Linked DNA regions of Homo sapiens: region 1 is linked to region 2. The links are contacts of gene promoters, found by promoter capture Hi-C in human tissues and cell types (Jung and others, 2019). All regions are on one chromosome and are shown on one strand. Each heading gives the region's core, a stretch centred on a gene start or on the middle of the fragment in contact. The rest is flanking DNA. Distances are from core to core; before and after follow the strand shown. Region 1 has its middle 21 kb from the start of MIS18A. Region 2 holds the start of TCP10L (t-complex 10 like).

What was found. Contacts are between HindIII fragments. The study calls those that stand out against the background at their distance.
Region 1: a fragment that was not itself captured here is called in contact with the fragment with the promoter of TCP10L in region 2 in 2 of the 25 tissues and cell types used here (H1 embryonic stem cells and spleen).

What each region holds. Positions count from the first base shown.
Region 1 is chr21:32,255,770-32,259,388 of GRCh38, forward strand. It overlaps a transcript of MIS18A not described here. Among named protein-coding and RNA genes, the nearest start is that of MIS18A, 21 kb to the right of the region's middle. The HindIII fragment of the contact is 6,088 bases long and covers 1-3,619 here.
Region 2 is chr21:32,583,915-32,587,664 of GRCh38, forward strand. TCP10L (t-complex 10 like) reads right to left here and starts at 1,609. Exons shown (of 5, transcript NM_144659.7): 1 at 1,507-1,609; 2 at 247-391. The coding sequence starts at 390. All of the region lies in intron 5 of CFAP298-TCP10L (CFAP298-TCP10L readthrough), which reads right to left. RefSeq lists an enhancer at 1-366 and a silencer at 1,448-1,647. The HindIII fragment of the contact is 17,408 bases long and covers 1-3,750 here.

The sequences.
Region 1 (3,619 bases), core at 935-3,434, 330 kb before region 2:
AGTGCTAGCTACTCGGGAGGTTGAGGCAGGAGAATGGAGTAAACCTGGGACGCAGAGCTTGCAGAGAGCCAAGAACGTGCCACCGCACTCCAGCCTGGGTGACAGAGCGAGACTCTGTCCCAAAAAAAAAAAAAAGAACAAACGTGTTTACGCCTGGGGTAAGTACATTTAATAGTGTAAAAGTTCAGCCATTTCCATCTATTTTATCTCATCCCTAACTGGCTATGGATGGTAAACTCAGTTGACTTCTTTGAGGATAACCATAAATGTGTTTCACAAGCTTACTGATGTCTACTTTTAGCGAATTTCTTCAGGAAACAGAAGATTCATTATTAAACATTTTTTTGATGTCTACTATGTTGGGATTGTTCTCCCCAGAAACCTCGTGTATTGCTGCTCAAACCTAAAGAGAATTACTCTACTCTTTACTGGACAAAATCACAAAACCATTGACTGGGCCACCCCAAATTGTGCTCCCTCAGAGAGTACCACTGCCTCGAAGTCTTTTTAATCTATTTCTGCTTGATCTATCATCAAATTTCCCTGAGCTGCTGTTCAAACCTGTCCACATTTCTTTCATTTCTCTATTCCATTCCCACCCGACTCAGTTTCATCGGATGACTTGGCATCCTCCTCTCTCACTTGAGCCTCGTGGCTGTCACACTCCGGTAGCTAAGGCCACCTTTGTTCAATGGCTCTCTACCGGGAGGCATAAAAAGTACGGTGACACGTGTGCTGGTTTTCCCGGGACAATTGACATCTGTCATCCCGACTTAATTATTAGACATTCCCTGTTTCGCGAATGTGCCCTGATTTGGACAATAATTTTTATAGTCCTACTAATGATGAGAAAAACATTGAAGATGGAAGCTGTTCTCAGTGGGGACTGTCCCTTGCCCCTTTTTCGGCCTCTGTGTCTTGGCTCATGCTAATCTTTCTTGTACTCAGTGACAAAAATGATCTCTTGTTCCTGTGAGAATTCTGACTTTATTACTTCTTAATCTGCATGATCATCTAGTGCTTCTCAGACTGATGATCTGTGTATATTTTCTTTTAACCACCCATCTCAAACAGTTCAATTCAAATCCTCATTTCAGAGCTACAGAAAAATGCATGTGAATAAGACTCATTCTTACAGAGGAAAAAAAAACAGGCTAGAACGAAAGTCTGCTCATTCACAGATTGTTTTCCCCCACCCTGGCTCCCTTAACAGCCACATCAGGACTGGATTCTCCCAGGTTTTCCTTCAGAGTGGAGAGAAACACAGCAGTTGTTGCCTTGGAAACTCTGTCCAGGGGCTGGCATCACGGGACTTGGCTCGCCTGCTCTATGGCTGACATCCAAAGCTGACTCACTTAAGTTTCGACTGGTTATGGCTTCGCTAAGGGGGACATAGCGATTGAGGAGAGAGGACAGGGGAACTTGAGCAAGTGAAATGACTATAGCAAGACATCTGTCTTCTTCACAGAGAGTAACTCAAATGATGGCAAAAGGAATAACCAGTGCACTTTAATAATGAAGATTCTTGGTGAAATGTTGGCAGCCAGAGATGCTGTTAAATAAAATGTTCACGTGCCCATGTTTTAATCCAGTTCAGAATTCCATGAGCTGATTCAAGAATTTCTTCAAGACATGCACCTGGTGCCACCTACAACTGTTCATTACACAGCAGCAGCAAATGTGGGCGGCTCTTCTATTCTAAGCTTCTTTTGTGGTCTTGGTTCTCTAATGGGCAGAATATTGTCTATGTCCATCAGATTACAAATGCCTTAGATGAGCCTCTATCAGCTATCAATCGAGGTTTCCATTTCAAATCAATACCTAATTAAAATAACAAAACATTTCTGATTGCTTTTTTAGATTACTTTTAAAAGGAAACCTACGGAGCATCCTAATCCAACCCCTTCTTTCTACAGATGAGGAAACCTAGCCTGGGAGATGGACGCCAGGGATGTGAAATTGCTCCAGTTGTTGGAGGCTCCGTAGGACACACACCCCAAGGCTCCAGGACTCCCAGTGTGCTGGAACCTCACAGAACTACCACTTTGCCTCTGCATAATCACTTAATGCACGAGTATTTTTTTAATCTGTTTCAGCAAATGGAAGTCTGGCATAAAATGTAGTTGCCTGAGTTCACTTTAAAGCTTTGGACAATGTTGTCGTCTAAATAATGTGCTTTGGATGTCTTGACCCATAACAAGATAGCACTGTTCCTTAATCTTTCCAAAGGAATCTATAGCATTAATACAGATAGAGGGTTCCTGCCAAGTCTCGTGTGAGTCAGACACATTAGCAAGGTGATCAGAAATGTCCTTATTCCGGAAGACTGCCACCTCTCAGCCGGCAACTCCAAACTGAGCTGGCAAACACAGCATTAAGGACTCAGAAAGCATTGGGGGAGGGGATTTAGTAACAAATCTGAGTCATGAAAACAGAAAACGACTGAAAGAGAAAACATAATTAACTTCCAGTGTAGAATGCTAGTGCCTTGGGGAAAATCCTGTGCAAGTGTAGATGTAAGCAATTTTAGGGACGAATACCGAAAAAGCTGTTAGCAGTCTGATGGGGGCTGCATCGGGGACGGGGGGCCTTGACTATTATTTTATTTTAATTAAGAATGTTGGTTACAGGAGTGAAGGGATAAAGTCAGGTTGCAATGAGGCAACCTTCCTGTTGGACAGGGCCTCCTGCAGCTACTGAGTTTCCCACTGTGGTTGTGAACAGGCTGGACACGATGAATGTTTACATGGTGAAATGCGGCCCCTTGTGGCCTGATTGGGGAAACAAAACAAAAAGTCCGACTCACAGCCTGAGAGTGATACTAACCTACTTTACAGCATGTCAAACAGTGACACTGAAAAAATGACTACGGTACTCAGCAAAATTAGTAATCACACCAAAACGCACCAACATATAAAAGAACCATTTTATTCAAGAAAGCCGGGAAGAACTGTCCCCTAAGTCAGCTCGTGTCACACTTGAACGTGCCTGGGGACCACCTAGCATCTTGTTGCAGCAGCACAGGTTTGGTTCAGCGGGCCTGGATGAGGCGTGAGGGTCTGCATTTTATTTATTTATTTATTTATTTATTTATTTATTTATTTATTTACTTACTTACTTACTTACTTAGAGATAGGCCTGTTGCCCAGGACGGAGTGCAGTGGTAAGATAACAGCTCACTGCAGCCTCGACCTCCCAGGCTCAAGCAGTCCTCTCACTTCAGCCTCCAGGGTGGCTGGGACTGCAAGTGCACGCTACCACTGCTAACTTTTTAATTTTTTCGTAGAGTCTTGCTGGTCTTGCTATGTCGCCCAGGCCAGTCTCGAACTCCTAGACTCAAGCGATCCTCCTGCCTCGGCCTCCCAAAGTGCCAGGATTTCAGGTGGGAGCCACCGTGCCCAGCCAGGGTCTGCATTTCTGATAAGCCTCAGGCAATGCCCACCCTGAGAGTGGCCAGGGGCTCGAGGGAAGGGTTGGCCAGGTCTCCTCTGTCAGGGCCTCCTCGCTCCAAGACCGCAGGCCTCTGGAGGGCATTCTCTGCCTCGCCTTGGCCTCCCAGGGGTTACAATTCTTTCCCACACCCAAGCACTGAGAAGGCTGGGGAGCCACTTTTCTTTCG
Region 2 (3,750 bases), core at 359-2,858:
AGAGGAGAAAAGCTGGAATGTTAATATTTTCTTTAACTCCCTGCCCTGCCTCCCATCCACCAAGAGATACGGTTGCAGAGGGGGAAAGAGCCACATGCCCCTTGGAGAGGAAGTACAGAATCAGTGTCCCGGGGTGGTGCATTCCTACAGGGGTCCAGCAAGGGAAAGTCCAATGACGGGCCTCAGGGACAGGAATCAGGGTCCCGCCTGGTGGGACTAACTCTGTCCCCACAGAGCTCAACTCACTGGCATCTCCCCAGTGTTGCAGTCCTCCGTGAGAACCTCGGCTGCCACAGCTGTCTTCTCCATGACAGCCCCAGCTCCTGGGCACGGGTCCTCTGGGTGGGTGCCCTCTTTGGGGTCCCTGGCCTCGAGTTGACCTGCCAGCATCCTGGTTGGGAAGGGAAGGGCTATGGGGACACTTGAATGCAGCCCTCCTACCCCGTCAGTGTGGGCTGAAGGCCCCAGCCCCAAACTAAGGGTGAGCAGGACCCGCAGCCGCTCCTTCTCCCCCTGGGTCATGTGCACATTCCCAGGCCCGAAGCTGACCAGGTGAAAGGACACCACAGACAGAGGGACTGAGCTGTCCACACCTGGCTCTCCACCATCCTCCGTGGAAAATGCTTTAGATCCTAGAAGATCAGCCTGACACCTAACACACTCCAGTCATCCAAAGAGGGGTGTGAGTGGGGTGTGAGCCGGTGTGAGTGGGATGTGAGTGGGTTGTGAGCAGGATATGAGCGGAATGTGAATGGATGTGAGCGGATGTGAGCACGATGGTCTTGGGGTATGAGCAGGTGTGAGTGGAATGGTCTCAGGGTGTGAGCAGGTGTGAGTGGAGGGTCGCATGAGACACCGAGGGAATTCTCAGCCCTTTAATCAGCACCCACCTGGAGGGGCACAGGCAGACCCTCCACCGTGTTGAGTATGTGTCTTGAACCATCAGGGTGACATTTGTGAATTCATGGTGAAGATGTGGAAAGGAAACACCTTTTTATAGGTACAGCATTTATGCCAGTTCTAGGAAGTTCACAGCAATTAGAGAACAAAAACGAAAGAGAAAAACGCAAAGCTTTCCTGCAAGCCTGCAGGGTCGTCTCTGAAAGCTGCCTCCACCCCTGCCTTGCCCTGTCCGTTTTAGGAAGCCAGTGGCCCCCAACGAAACCCCGACTGTTTAATTCATAAACTTCTAACTGTGTGAGAAGGAACAGTTTAACCACAGTGATCGGAGAAATGCTATTTAAAAGAGAGTCTCCTGATGGAAGCGAATCGAAGGTCTAGAGCAAGACCTACCAGTAACCAGATCACTGCCATTCCTTCCCCGCGGAGACTGGGAATGTTTCTGCGGAAGTGGGCTGGGGTCACGGTCCTCACAGCCCTGAGAAAGCTCCTTCTTTCCTGCTCCTCTGAGGGGACACCCCAGTGTCCTCGGCCCCAAACTCATGACCCCCTCAGTCCAGGGAAGACCCTTTCCTTCAGCCCCACCACCAGACCTCGTCACCTCACCTGGTCCCCAACAGTCACTACTGCCAGGATCAGATCATCTGGGCCATGTCCCCACAGTTGTCCCCAAGCCCTCCTGCCTCATATCCAGAGACCAGAGAGCAGCGGACAGTTCCAACGGACTTTCTGTCTTAAAGGGACATGAACGTCTCACTCAGCGTCACCACTGTACCAGCTCAGATAATAATTAAACATCCCCAAACCTGCAATTCTTAATATAGAAGCTCATCGTCAGTGGAGTCCATCCATCCACAAAGGACATTGGAGAGAGTCAAACTACTCCTCCAAATTGACAAAAACCATGTGTTTTATATCCAGTCTTCAATACGCAACGTGTAGTAAGAGCTCATTTCTCTGAGCATACATTCTTGGAGAAATACAAACTTTCTTCGGATATCAAATTATTTACTAGAAAAAACATTTTTATGAAGGGAAAATAATATATGTGAGTTTAAATAGGAGACAGGATTCAAAGTTTCATCATTTCACTAAATGCATCTCCATCTGAATTGTCCGTGTGATTTTTGTGATAGAGAAGAGAATGAGGAGCAAGCAAGAGTCGATATTCCTGTTAAACCCTGGCTGTCCTTCTCATCCATGGTGCTGCGTGTGGACAACATACACCTGGGGCTCACCTGAGCCTGCTTGGGACGTGTGTCACTTGGATAGTTCTGCAAGCGATTCGCATGCAATAGGCAGTAAATGCCGACGTCATGAATGAATGAAGAGAATACTACAAAGAGGAAACAGAAGGCACTTTTGTCCCCATGTGTCATTCTAACTGTGAGAGTGTGTGTGTGTGTCCTGAGGTGTGCGAGTGTGTGTGTGTGTGTCCTGAGGTGCGTGAGAGGTTGTATGTTTGTCCTGAAGTGTGTGAGAGTTTATATAGGTTTCTGAGGTATGTGAGGGGTTGTGTGTGTCCCTGAGGTGTATGAGGTGTGTGTGGGTCCTGAGGTGTGTGAGTGGTTGTGTGTGGGTCCCTGAGGTGTGTGAGAGGTTGTGTGTGGGTCCTAAGGTGTGTGAGTGGTTGTGTGTGGGTCCTAAGGTGTGTGAGAGGTTGTGTGTGGGTCCTAAGGTGTGTGAGTGGTTGTGTGTGGGTCCTAAGGTGTGTGAGAGGTTGTGTGAGTCCTGAGGTGTGTGAGAGGATTGTGTGTGAGTCCTGAGGTGTGTGAGGGGTTATGTATGGGCCCCTGAGGTGTGTGAGGGGTTTTATGTGTGTCCTGAGAAGTGTGATGAATTGTGTGGGTCCTGAGGTGTGTGAGGGTTTGTGTATGAGACCCTGAGGTGTGTCAACATTGTGTGTGAGACCCTGAGGTGTGTGAGGGGTTGTGTGTGGATTCCTGAGGTGTGTGAGGGCTTGTGTGTATGAGCCTGAGGTGTGTGGGTTCCTTATATGGGTTCCTGAGGTGTGTGAGGGGTTGTGTGTGTGTCCTGAGGTGTGTGAGGGGTTGTGCTTGGGTCCTGGGGTGTGTGAGTGGGTGTTTGTCCTGAGGTGTGTGAGAGGTTGTGTGTGTGTCCTGAGGTGTGTGAGAGTTTGCGTAGGTTCCTGAGGTATGTGAGGGGTTGTGTGTGTCCTGAGGTGTGTGAGAGGTTGTGTGAGTCCCTGGGGTGTGTGAGAGTTTGTGTAGGTTTCTGAGGTGTGTGAGAGTTTGTGTAGCTTCCTGAGGTGTGTGAGAGGTTGTGTGAGTCCCTGAGGTGCGTGAGGGGTTGTGTGTGTCCTGAAGTGTGTGAGAGGTTGTGTAGGTTTCAGGCTTTGCAGCTCCCCTCCTGAGCCTCAGCCGGGCGGCTCCCAGGGCAGGGTCCCCCCATCCCTGTCTCTGCTGCGGCTCTCTGTGTGTTGCTCTTCCCGGCCTGGCCAGGACATTTTCTTCATTGAGTCTTCCCCAGATTCTCACCCTGCAGCAACCACGTGCGGCAGCAGGTCAGGGCGGAGGCTCCTGGGCGTTTGGACTGTGGGGCCCTTCTCTTCTCTCTGATAAGGCCCCGGTTTTCTGTTCAGCCTCGCGGTGCCTTAGCCGCATTTCAGGCATGGTCTTCCAGGGCCCTCTGGTCTGAACATTCTGTAGAGGAAACCACGGCACACCTTTCACTCATCTTTTAAAATCAGAAGCCAGTTCCTGAGCTGGCTGCTTGGAGTAGCAGCAGATACACTTTTTAAAGTAGCTTATGTGTTTAAATTTCTGGTTCAAAGGACTACTTCTATAGTGGTACAGACCCTGACAAAAGAAATCACCTTTTCTAAATATC